2 separate regions of the Homo sapiens genome follow, and region 2 is linked to region 1. Evidence: promoter capture Hi-C in 16 types of primary human blood cells and fetal thymus (Javierre and others, 2016). All regions are on one chromosome and are shown on one strand. Each heading gives the region's core, a stretch centred on a gene start or on the middle of the fragment in contact. The rest is flanking DNA. Distances are from core to core; before and after follow the strand shown. Region 1 holds the start of TMEM208 (transmembrane protein 208). Region 2 holds the start of TPPP3 (tubulin polymerization promoting protein family member 3).

What was found. The method cuts DNA at HindIII sites, captures the fragments that hold promoters and counts their contacts. A CHiCAGO score of 5 or more calls a contact.
Region 2: a contact is called between the fragment with the promoter of TPPP3 here and the fragment with the promoter of TMEM208 in region 1, in 1 of 17 cell types (endothelial precursors). The highest score is 5.7, in endothelial precursors.

The regions. Positions count from the first base shown.
Region 1 is chr16:67,225,062-67,230,245 of GRCh38, reverse strand. It overlaps TMEM208 (transmembrane protein 208), which reads right to left and starts at 3,116. Exons shown (of 6, transcript NM_014187.4): 1 at 3,022-3,116; 2 at 2,315-2,410; 3 at 1,832-1,891; 4 at 1,615-1,751; 5 at 1,365-1,449; 6 at 968-1,270. The coding sequence starts at 3,027. The coding sequence ends at 1,133. It overlaps FHOD1 (formin homology 2 domain containing 1), which reads left to right. Exons shown (of 22, transcript NM_013241.3): 20 at 18-180; 21 at 256-453; 22 at 528-857. The coding sequence ends at 610. It also overlaps the pseudogene FBXL9P. RefSeq lists an enhancer at 2,964-3,313. The HindIII fragment of the contact is 11,037 bases long and covers 1-4,655 here.
Region 2 is chr16:67,391,289-67,396,472 of GRCh38, reverse strand. It overlaps TPPP3 (tubulin polymerization promoting protein family member 3), which reads left to right and starts at 2,975. Exons shown (of 4, transcript NM_015964.4): 1 at 2,975-3,093. ZDHHC1 (zDHHC palmitoyltransferase 1) reads left to right here. Exons shown (of 12, transcript NM_001323627.2): 9 at 907-989; 10 at 1,193-1,286; 11 at 1,411-1,471; 12 at 1,580-2,321. The coding sequence ends at 1,863. The HindIII fragment of the contact is 5,780 bases long and covers 1,122-5,184 here.

The DNA.
Region 1 (5,184 bases), core at 1,867-4,366:
CCTTCTTCTTTCTCCAGACAGAGAAGTTCTCAGGTGTGGCTGGGGAAGCCCCCAGCAACCCCTCTGTCCCAGTAGCAGTGAGCAGCGGGCCAGGCCGGGGAGATGCTGACAGTCATGCTAGTATGAAGAGTCTGCTGACCAGCAGGCCTGAGGACACCACACACAATCGCCGCAGCAGAGGTGAGGCCCATAGCAGCTGTGGGGAATGGGCTCCAGTGCCACCTTGGCCTGACTTTGCTATCTGGCCTTCCTCAGGCATGGTCCAGAGCAGCTCCCCAATCATGCCCACAGTGGGGCCCTCCACTGCATCCCCAGAAGAACCCCCAGGCTCCAGTTTACCCAGTGATACATCAGATGAGATCATGGACCTTCTGGTGCAGTCAGTGACCAAGAGCAGTCCTCGTGCCTTAGCTGCTAGGGAACGCAAGCGTTCCCGCGGCAACCGCAAGTCTTGTAAGTAACCCCCCACAATCCCACTGCCCACCTGAACCCCATCAACCCCCTCCAACCCTGCTCTGTCCCTGCAGTGAGAAGGACGTTGAAGAGTGGGCTCGGAGATGACCTGGTGCAGGCACTGGGACTAAGCAAGGGTCCTGGCCTGGAGGTGTGAAGGTGCTGTATCCCGGAAATCTATCTGGACCCTGGACTGCAGTGCAGGAGATGACAGAGTGAGGAGGGCCCAGAGCAGAATTCTGGCCCCAGAACTCTGTGCCCAGGAGCCATGCCTTGAGCAGTATTAGCCGTGTGTGTATGCATGTGAGTGTGTGTGTATGTGTGTGTGTGCATGCATATGCATGTGCATGTGTGTGAGCTCCTTGAACGCACGGAGCAAAATAAAATTTTCTTAGCTAATCCAACAGGTTTCTCTTCTTTCAGGGTCCCCACCAGGCTGGGTTTGTAGCAGGAGGGAAATCCCATAGGACCAGCTTTTCCTGCCTCATCCCTCATCACCCACACAGCCATCAGCCACATTCTAAGCCATTTATTCAACGACCCTATAGAGTATAAGTATACCCAATACCTCAGACTGCTTTTGGCCCCTGGACTAGACCCTCATTGCTCCAGGCATGAGGGGCTGTGCACCCTGACAGAGCCACCCAGGGCCAGTGGCCTGTGGCCACAATGTCAATGGCTATAACCGCTTCATCTGCCGCCGCTCCTGTCGGCGCTGCCGTTTCTCATTGTGCTCTGGTGCTGGGGTGCCACTGTCTGCAGTGAACCAGGGGCCCAGCACATTCACCCACAGGAGGTAAAGGGCCCGGCCTGGAGCCTACAAGAGAAACGGTAACTTGAAGCAAGATGCAGGGAATAAAAGATGGGGAGGGTTAGATGCCCCTTCTTGGGAGCGCCCCCAGCCCACATACCAGAAGCCAGAAGGACCAGACATAGAGAGAGAAGCAGCTGAGCACCTGCACGATGGCTGTCAGTAGGATCACATCCTTAAGGTGCCTGTGGATAGAAATAAAGCTGGAAAGACAGCATATGGGCCCTTCCACCCTTTTCAAGTTGCAACTCCCTTCCACCCTTTTCAAGTTACAAGTAGCTGTGCTTCTTGGGCTATCTGGGCCCCAGCCCTGGGGCCGCTCACCTGGGCTGGCGGTGGGGGACACTCACTCTGCCATGCCCTGCTCCATGTTGAGGTCCATGCCACCATCCATCAGGGCCCCATCCTCAGAGAACGCTGCTCGTGCCATCGAGCTCATAGAGTGGTAGCTGGCCCCATACACTGCCAGACTAAAGCCCAGGGCCAACTGCAGAGCAAGAATGAGGGTATCAAAGGCCAGCCACTGACCCTACGCACTCATCCACCTCCCAGGATGGAGATACTTACCCAGGCCCAAAATGAGGCAGATGAGTAAAAGAAGACCAACGTCACAAGGCAGTAAATGGCCTGCAAGCAATCACAGGATCAGGTTGGGGTCAGAAGTTACCTCCAAACCATGGGTCTCCCTCAACTCTGACCAAGAATTAGGCCAGGCTGTGGGAGGAGCAAGGTTGTTCTTACAGGGTTGAAGAAAGGGCCCTGCTCCCTGAATCCCAAATACCCACTCTCCTCTGACACCCAACTCAGCCCAGGAAAGAAGCCTTTGTGTACTTGGAGGTAGGAAGAGCTCTCAAATTCAGCTACGACTCACGCCTTCATTTTCTTTGTGTTTTACTAGTTAGCACTTTCTCTGTGCCCAGATCTCTCATTTCTTTTTGACTGGAGCTCTCTTCTAGAGCTTTTTCGGGTACCACTCCTCGTCACCAAGCAGGGCTGAGGACTAGGGAACTGACTATAAGTGGGCATAGAAGCAAGGAGGTAGGCACTTACATTGGCCCCCAGTATGATCCGCAGGTAGAACTTCAGAGTCTCTCTGTTCTCTTCAAATATCTGCTTCTTCCCTCTCGTGCCCACTTTGCCCTTGGGCTGCAGAGGAATGATGAGATGCCGTCAGGAGGCCACGGTCCTCCTCATTCTCCCCACCAGCCTGGTGAGCTATAGAGCTCCATCCGCAACTCAGCCAGGTCCCCGTAGTGCAGAAACCTAGCAAAATCCCTGGGATGTCCACCCATCCTCCAGTCCATTCTGCCTAGGGCTGACGCCATCTCTCCAGCACCCGCAGCTAGGATCAATCGCCTCTTGCTCGCCCTGGAACAATTCAATCCTAAGCTAATACCGCCTCTGGATCCCGTGGTAGTCTGGCTTTAGGCTAACGACTCTTCCAAGGGTACTCCTGAGCGGAGTTGAATGGTGCCTCTCTCAGGCCTCCGCTGGCGTAGTCCCGATCTGGGTTAACCCCCACCTCAGGTCACTTAGATCTCTGGCCTGCCCTGGTACTGATGCCCACCCCGCTCTGGCACTAGTCCTGGTATGGTCCTGCGCCGCCATCCCCCCAGCCCAGCTCTAGCACGGTCTGGCCAGGGATGGCGCCCCGCTCTGGCCCACCCCATATCCCTTAATGTTCTTTCTCAGTTTTCACTCTCACAGCCCCTGGAGAGCTTTGCTGGTGCGGACCCCGCCCTATCCATCCTCCTTACCGCCATGGTGCGAGGCAAATACCCAGCCCGGGAAACACGGGAGAGCGACCGAAACCGCAATCACTAAGCACCACATCGGCAGCTCATGCACTTCCGGCGCAGACCGAAGTCGTCAGCTTTTGCGACGGAAATAGGTCTCACTTCCTTCCCAAGCCCCGCCCCAAAGAGGCGAGACTACATTTCCCAGAAAGCCTTGCGCAGTGGGGGCGGAGGCGGCAGGGATGCGATGGCGGAGTCGCTGCCCCTGGAGGTGAGAGGAAGCCGCCCTCAGGCCTAGCTCTGGACAGGCCCCGCCCTCGCGGTCCTGAGCTTTGGGGAGGGGCTGTCAGATAGCTAGCCCGGCCCCTCCAGCCTGGCGGAAACGACCCGCCCTCCCGATCCCGGGACCTTCTAGCTCTGGGTAACGGTTCCTCCTTTGGGCCACTCTGTCCCTTTAGCTTGGGGGACCGTCCTCCCCTTCCCTATCGGCCCCAGAAGATAGCTGCCCTGTCATCTCCGCGAGAACAGGCCCTCTGCCCATCCCCTTCCCTTGAAGTGGCTGTCTCCTCCCCGCTCAGTTCTGGAAGATGTCCGCTCCATCTCATCGTCCCGAAGGGTAACTGATCTTATCCCCATTGGTCCCTTGGGATGATCTCTCCATTTCCTACAGAGACGGCCGCCCCTTCTCCCTGGCAGTGGGAAACAGACTGCTCCCTCCCCATCAACTGCAATGATCTCTGAGTTCCTTTAACAAGGATAGGCCTGTTCCCCATTCCTAGGCCCCTAGTGATGGCCGCCCTTACCTCTTTCACTCCGTGGGATGTTTGCTCCTTCCCCTTAGCCAGGGGCAAGACCACTCTGCCCCATCTGCCAGGGAGATAACAGGTTTTGTCTTCAGTGGCCTGTTGGAATGGCTTCTCCATCTCTTTTGTCCTGAGGGTTGGCAGCCCCCTCTCTCTGCCCATGGGAAACAGGCCACCCTTTCCCATCGGTCCTGGAATGATGCTCCTGTCCTTAGCAAAAATAGGCCTGTTCCCACCCCTATTGAGCTTGCAGTGCTATCCCTTTCCCCCTTAGCTTTAGGGGCTATCTATTTCCATCCCCATAGACCCCATGAGTGACCAATCATTATCTCCAGTAGCCCCCTTGAGATGGGACTCATGGGATGGTCACTCCATCCTCATCACTGCCTCCTCTTGTCCCTCTAGAAAGGCCACCCTCTTCTTAGGTCAATGAATTGTGTCCCTTCCCGACTCACCCCAAGGGATGACAGGTTTGTTCCCCTCTCCCTTTGCTCTTGGGCTGGCTGCTTAGCCCCAGAAGACAGGATGGCCACTGTCTTAACTCAGCTCAAACAGGCTTCCGTGCCTCCCTGGAGGGATTGGGACTTGGTCAGTCCCAGTCCCCATCAATACTGTCTTCCCTATGCCTCCCTTCCTGGCCCAGAAGTCTATTCTGCCAGTCATTGTCCTCTCAGTAATGACTGCTTTATTTCCCCGACCCCTTCCCTGAGCATACTCTTGGTGAAAATAGAGGTAGAGGACTGGACTGTCCAACCTTAATTTAATCCAGTAAGCACTGGCTGAGCACTGTGCCTGCGTGCTTGGCATCTGAGAAAGGAAGGAGAGATCACAATGGGTTGGTGAAGTTAAGCTTCAAGAAGGGGATCCCAGGGAAAAGGCCCGCATAGGCAAAAGGAAATAGACATGCTGTGTGCGTAGGGCAATGGGGAGACTGGACTGGGGAAGTTTGGGGACCAGCGAGTCCAATCAGGCACAGAGGCCTGGCAGTGCTGATCCAGGAGTGGAGACTGTCCTGAGAGTACTGTGAACCCTGAAGTTTTACAGCAGGGGTGAGCTGAAACTGAAAACTGTTTTATAGGAAAAATTAACCTTGTGACAGTGTGCATAATGTATTAGCAAGGATGAACTTGGAGGCAAAGAGTTCAGGTGGGAGATTGTGGAAGGAATCCAGGTTTGGGGTGGTAGAAATCTGAGCTACTGAGGTGGGGAAGTTGCAGAGGTAGAAATTTTAGTAACAGCAATCCAGCAACCATTTATGGAACATCTAGTTGTCACACACACACTATATATATGTAAAATTTAATCCCCATGAGGCTATGATCTAGATTTTTTTAAAGTATCCCTATTTTATAGATATGGAAACTGAAACTCCCAGAGGTCA
Region 2 (5,184 bases), core at 1,726-4,225, 170 kb before region 1:
CTGCATTAGTCAGGACGCCTCCGTCTCCATGGAAACGGCTGCTGAACTGGCGACAGCTGTCCGGGTGCTCCCGGCAACCCCTCCCGGCTCCCACCCCGCCCGGGACCCGCCCCCATCTCGCACCACGCCCTTCCCGGGCCTGCTTTCCCCAGGCTTTTGTTTCCTCACCTGGAGTCCTTCTGGGCAAAGCTGGGGCGAGTCCTGCGGGCGGGGGTGCAGGACTAGGCCACTCCTGCAACCCCCTGGCCTCAAGGCCCCTTTGCTCTCAGGGGTCGCGTCTGCACCCTCAGGGTTGCTGTGAAGATCAGGGCTTGCCCATAAGCCTGGTGCTCAGTGGGGCTGCGGCTCTGTTTGTTCCACCACCTGCTACCTTCCCTTTTGGTGTAGTGGCAGGGAGACCACCGCATGTGCATTTACGCAGCCCCTTCTCGGCAGCCTGGATCGTGGCTGGTCCTCTGTGAGGGCGAGGGGTGTGCCCAGGACTCAGCTCTGCGGGAGCTGGTGGATGCACACTCAGGCCTGTTTCTCAGCCAGGGGAAAACAATTGGTTCAGAGGCTGGATCCCTGGGGACACCAGGAGCAGGTGCGGGCAGCTCTGAGCTTCCCACCACTCCCTGGCTGAGCCTCTCTAAACTGGGCCTATAGACCCATGGGGGCTGGGAGCCTTCCTGCAGGAGGCAGAGGCTGAATAGATGAGGTAAGGACCTGGGGATGGGGCAAGGGCCAGAAATGGGTGTTTTAAGCCTTACCCTACAGATGGGGTTTTCCCAGCATGGCTGGGAGCCTGGCATGAGGCCTGAGATATCCCACAGAGGCCAATGAGGGCAGGACTGCGTGGGCTTAGGGCTCAGCAGGCTCGGGAGCCACACCTGGCCTCCCAGCCTCCTTGACTTCCACCTTCCCCAGGAGATGGAGTTCTACATGCGGACCTTCAGACATATGCGCCCAGAGCCCCCTGGCCAGGCCGGGCCAGCAGCAGTGAATGCCAAGTGAGTGCAACCTGGGCATGTGCCACTGGGCATCTCCAGTTAGCATGGCAGGGCCATCGAGGCAGGAGAAGGGGGTAGGCTAAGGTCGGGGCATGGGTCAGGCCCTTCTCTGAGCTAACAGGAAGGGAAGCTTCTCTCAGCACCTCCAGTGGGGAGGGATTTGGGGAACAGGCCCCAGGCTTACCCTCCTGCTTCCCCCTCAGTCCCTCCCAGTTTCTTGCCACCCGTGGCCAAGCGGAACCTCCACCACCCTCTTCCCCAGACACTCTCGCCCTGCCTCCCCGGATCCGACCCCAGGTAGGAGGGACTGTGCTGGGCCTCCGGTCCAGGTGGAGTGGGATAGAAAGAAGCCTCTACCCTGGCGCTCGCCTCTGCTTCTTTTGGCGATGTGGGGCCCTCAGGCTCCCCCGTGTCTCTGCAGAAAAAGAGGAAGAGGCGCGTGTATAAAGTGCGAACGTCTGAGACCTCGGATCCGGCGTCGGGTGAGCGCCTCTCCCTGTCCGGGTCCTGCTCTGGGAACTCGAGGGAGGGGAAGGCAGAGCCACAAGCGAGCCGCAGCCACTGGGCTCATGTTCCCTTCCCTTGCGCAGGGCCTAGGGCCCCCAGCCGCCGCTCCAGCTCGTCGACGGATTCCGCGGACGCCAGCCCTGTGCACGCCGCTGGCCCTGCCGGCGCCTACCACTCGGCGTCGGCAGAGTCCGTGGACGAGATTCCAGTGGCGCAGACGCGCCTGGGCAGCGCCGCTCTGGCCGCCCCGCGGGGCCGGGGCCGACAGCCCACGCTGGCGCGGCAGGCGCGTGCGCCCGCCGTTTTCGTGAGCCCGAGCAGCGGCGAGCCCAGGGCGCCGGGCGGCCGGGAGGCTGGTCTGGCTTAGCTGGGCCGAGAGGCCGGAGGGCCGAGTTAGAGCGGCCGGCCTGACTCTCTATGCAACACCCCATCCTTGCCGCACCGAGTGCACTTTAGGGGCCCCTACGGCCGGCGGGATCGGCCTCCCTCCCCCACGACTCAGCAATACCCGCCCCACCGGCTGTGATGCTCCAATAAACTTTTTTATGCTTTTGCGGACGTCGCGCTTACTTTCTTAATGGCAGGGGCCACGGGCCATCCAGAAGCCCGACCCTGGCCAGTGGACCGGGGGCGGGGAGGAGGTCCCTGTATAGTAGGTAGCCACCCAGGCTGCCCTGTGGAGGTGCTCACGTGCGGCTCGTGGTTAGGAAAGGCCTTAGAAGGCGGCCTGGAGGAGGTTATTTTTCTTAAAGATGGGCTTTGCACTGGGAGGCCGAGAGAAAGCAGGCTTTGGGCTCCGAAAGCAGCAGTGGGCGCTGAGGCTGCGAGGCCGTGGGGAGGTGGCGGCGAAAGGAGGGGGCCGAGCCAGGAGGTCCCGCAGCTTTTCCCCGGCAGCAGGGCTGCCGTCGAATGCCAGCATCCTGGGGCTGGGCGAGCGCGATTCGCTCGTAGGGAGTCCCCTCCCTTCTTCCCCACTGCTCCAGGCTCTGAATCCTACCCAAGAGAGCACGGGAGTTGTGGCCTGGGGGTGCCATCCGTTCAGTGGATGGCAGTGCTCTTGAGTCAACCGTATACCCCTGTCACTGAGGGAGAGCTCCTTCCCGATTCCCCAAGCCCCACCAATGCCCCGCGCAGCTCCCCAGTGGCCTCTGGTTGACTCTCTGGGGAGCTGGATCTCTTCTGGAGATTGGGGCCGCTTAGAGCTTTAGGCACATCCCAGGATGGGAGGCTGTTTCCTCAGGGGGCCGTCCGAAGACGCCCCGAACTGCAGAGCGCTGGTCTCGCCGTCGCGAGGACCGCGGAGTTGCGGGGGAGGGGCGGGATGCGGCTCCCGGAGAGTCTCGGGGAGGGCGGGGCCTCGTGGGCGGGGCCGGCGTGACCTTGGTCACTCTCCCGCCGAGACAGCCTCGGGGGTGGGACTCGCCGTCTCTATGGAGACCGAGAAACAGGGGATAATACGGCGGAGCCGCCTGGGCTGCAGTCCCACCCGGGAGCCGGCAGGGAGCGGAGCTGCGGAGCCGCCTGGTCTCCCGCGTCCATCGGTCCATTCCTGCGTCGTTCTGTCCTTCCGAACGCACACTTCAGGAGCAGCCGCGAGGTAGAAGCCCATAGGAGACCCAGATGCCCGCCACCCCAATCAGTATCCTGCACGATGAGGGTTGGGGGGAGCAGCCTGGAAAGGGTCCCAACCTCCGGCGGTCCCAGCCGAGGAGCCAGCTGAGCGGCCCTGCCCTGGCCCCAAGCATTCCACCTCGCAGCCCCCACCTCCTGGTCCGGCTGATTGATGACTCCAGCTGTCCCAGTGGGAGCGGGACGGGTGGCTCCAGTTCACGGGTGTGGCCACTCCATCCATGGCCTGCAGACCCATGGGGCTGCGGCCTGCAACCCAGCGCCACCTGACCGCGCTGAGATGACCAAGAATCCATCTTTCCACGGACAGGAGTGAGCACTGCACGCAGGATCCGCCCAGTGCTTGGGCCAAGCACCCTGTGGCATCCAAGCTCCCCTGGACGTTACCCTTGGTGAACCAAGTGCGGGTCTTGGGGTCCCTGGTGGGAGGTTGCACCCAGGGAAAGGGAAGGGGAGTGCAGCGTGGACTGGGGTTATGGTCCCTGTAACGTAGGAACCACCGGTGCTCACAGTCCCAGAAACTGCCACTTAGGGATGGGAGTGTGGTCACTGGCGAGGAGTTTTTGGTGGAAGATGGGGCAGCCGGGCAGAGCCCAGGCCGTGGTCACTGGAAGCCCTAGTGTAAAAGGCAGAGCTAGAAGATGGTTGCTGAGACCGAGGGTGTGGTCAGGAGGTGGCAGTGGAGGAGGGGGATGTGGTGGGGAGGTCTCTACGCAGGGGATCTCCGCATAGTACCTGGGAGTCTTATAATGTTAGTGTGTGGATGTGGACTGGGGCCTTCAGTGCAGGCTGAGGGTGTGGCCAGAGGGCTGAGGGTGTGTGGACAAAGGGGTGCTGAGGGTCAGGGCGCCTTGATAAAGGGCTGCGGGTATTGGAGGGGGTGAGTGGCTGAGGCTATGGTCAGGGGTCTCAGGAAGGGATGCAGGTTTGTGGCCAGGGGCCTCAGCCCCAGGGCTGCGGGTGTGGGGATGGAGAAGGCTGCTGTGTAGGCTCAGGGTGTGGCCAGGGGTCTGCAGCGGAGGGCTGTGGGTGTGGGGGGCACTTTAGTGCTGGACTGTGGGTATTACTGGGGTTGGCGCAGGCTTGTTAGTATATATGTGGGGGCTGGTGGCCGAGGGCTGTGGCTGTGGGTGTGAAGATGGAGGATGGAGGGCTGAAGGTATGGCCAGGGGTACAAGGCCCAGGGGGTGGCAGGCCAGGGCTGAGTGCACAGGGTCGCTGGGAATGTGGGCTGGTGTGGCCAAGTTCAGGGCGTGGCCAGGGGAGGTCTGAGGTGTAGACATGATGAAGTGTGTTTCAGCCACAGCCCCACTTGCCAGCACGACTCTTGGGGTTCGTAACTCTACAGCCCCCACGCTACTAGCCCCCAACCTCCTGCTCCCCCAAAACTCCACAGTGGGAGGTTACAGCACCAGTCGGTGGCAAGGGGCCAGGAAGCCACGGTTATGCCCTAGGCGCAGGGAGTGCTGGCGTGCCCCACCCGTGGGCCCCAGCTTCCCAGCCCAGCCCAGCCCCTCAGCACTGGGAGCTTCTCCCTGAGCTGCCCTGACACCATCCTGCCCTTAGCAACATTCTCCAAGCAGCACCACCCTCCCTTAGCAACCGTCTCCAGGCTTCACAAACTGTGGCCAGGCCAGCCCCAAGCTCCCCTCATGTTTTTGTTTAACAGCAAATAGTAACAAGGCCTTGCTGGACCAGCTGCACCCCTGCCCAGGGCATGCACCCGTGCCCAGACTGGCTCTTGCTGGGTCCTCATGACCCTTACAGAGATGCTGTCCTCACTGAATGCCTGCCCGACCAGCAGCCTGGCCTGGCCCCAAGCCAGCTTGGCATGGAGCTTCCAGGGAGGGGGCCTGCTCTGCCACCCTCACTTCCACCCAAGCAAGGCCTTGTGCCAGGGCCAGACAAAGCCAGGGCCCCAGCTGCTGCCCTAACAGTCTTTCTGGACAGTGCCACTCTGTTCCCTGTGGGCATCATTATTTCATCTGCTGAACCCTGCTGAGAGCCAGGGCTGGCATTAGTGACAAGACCGTGCCTCCCGGGGCTCTTCCTTGGGGCT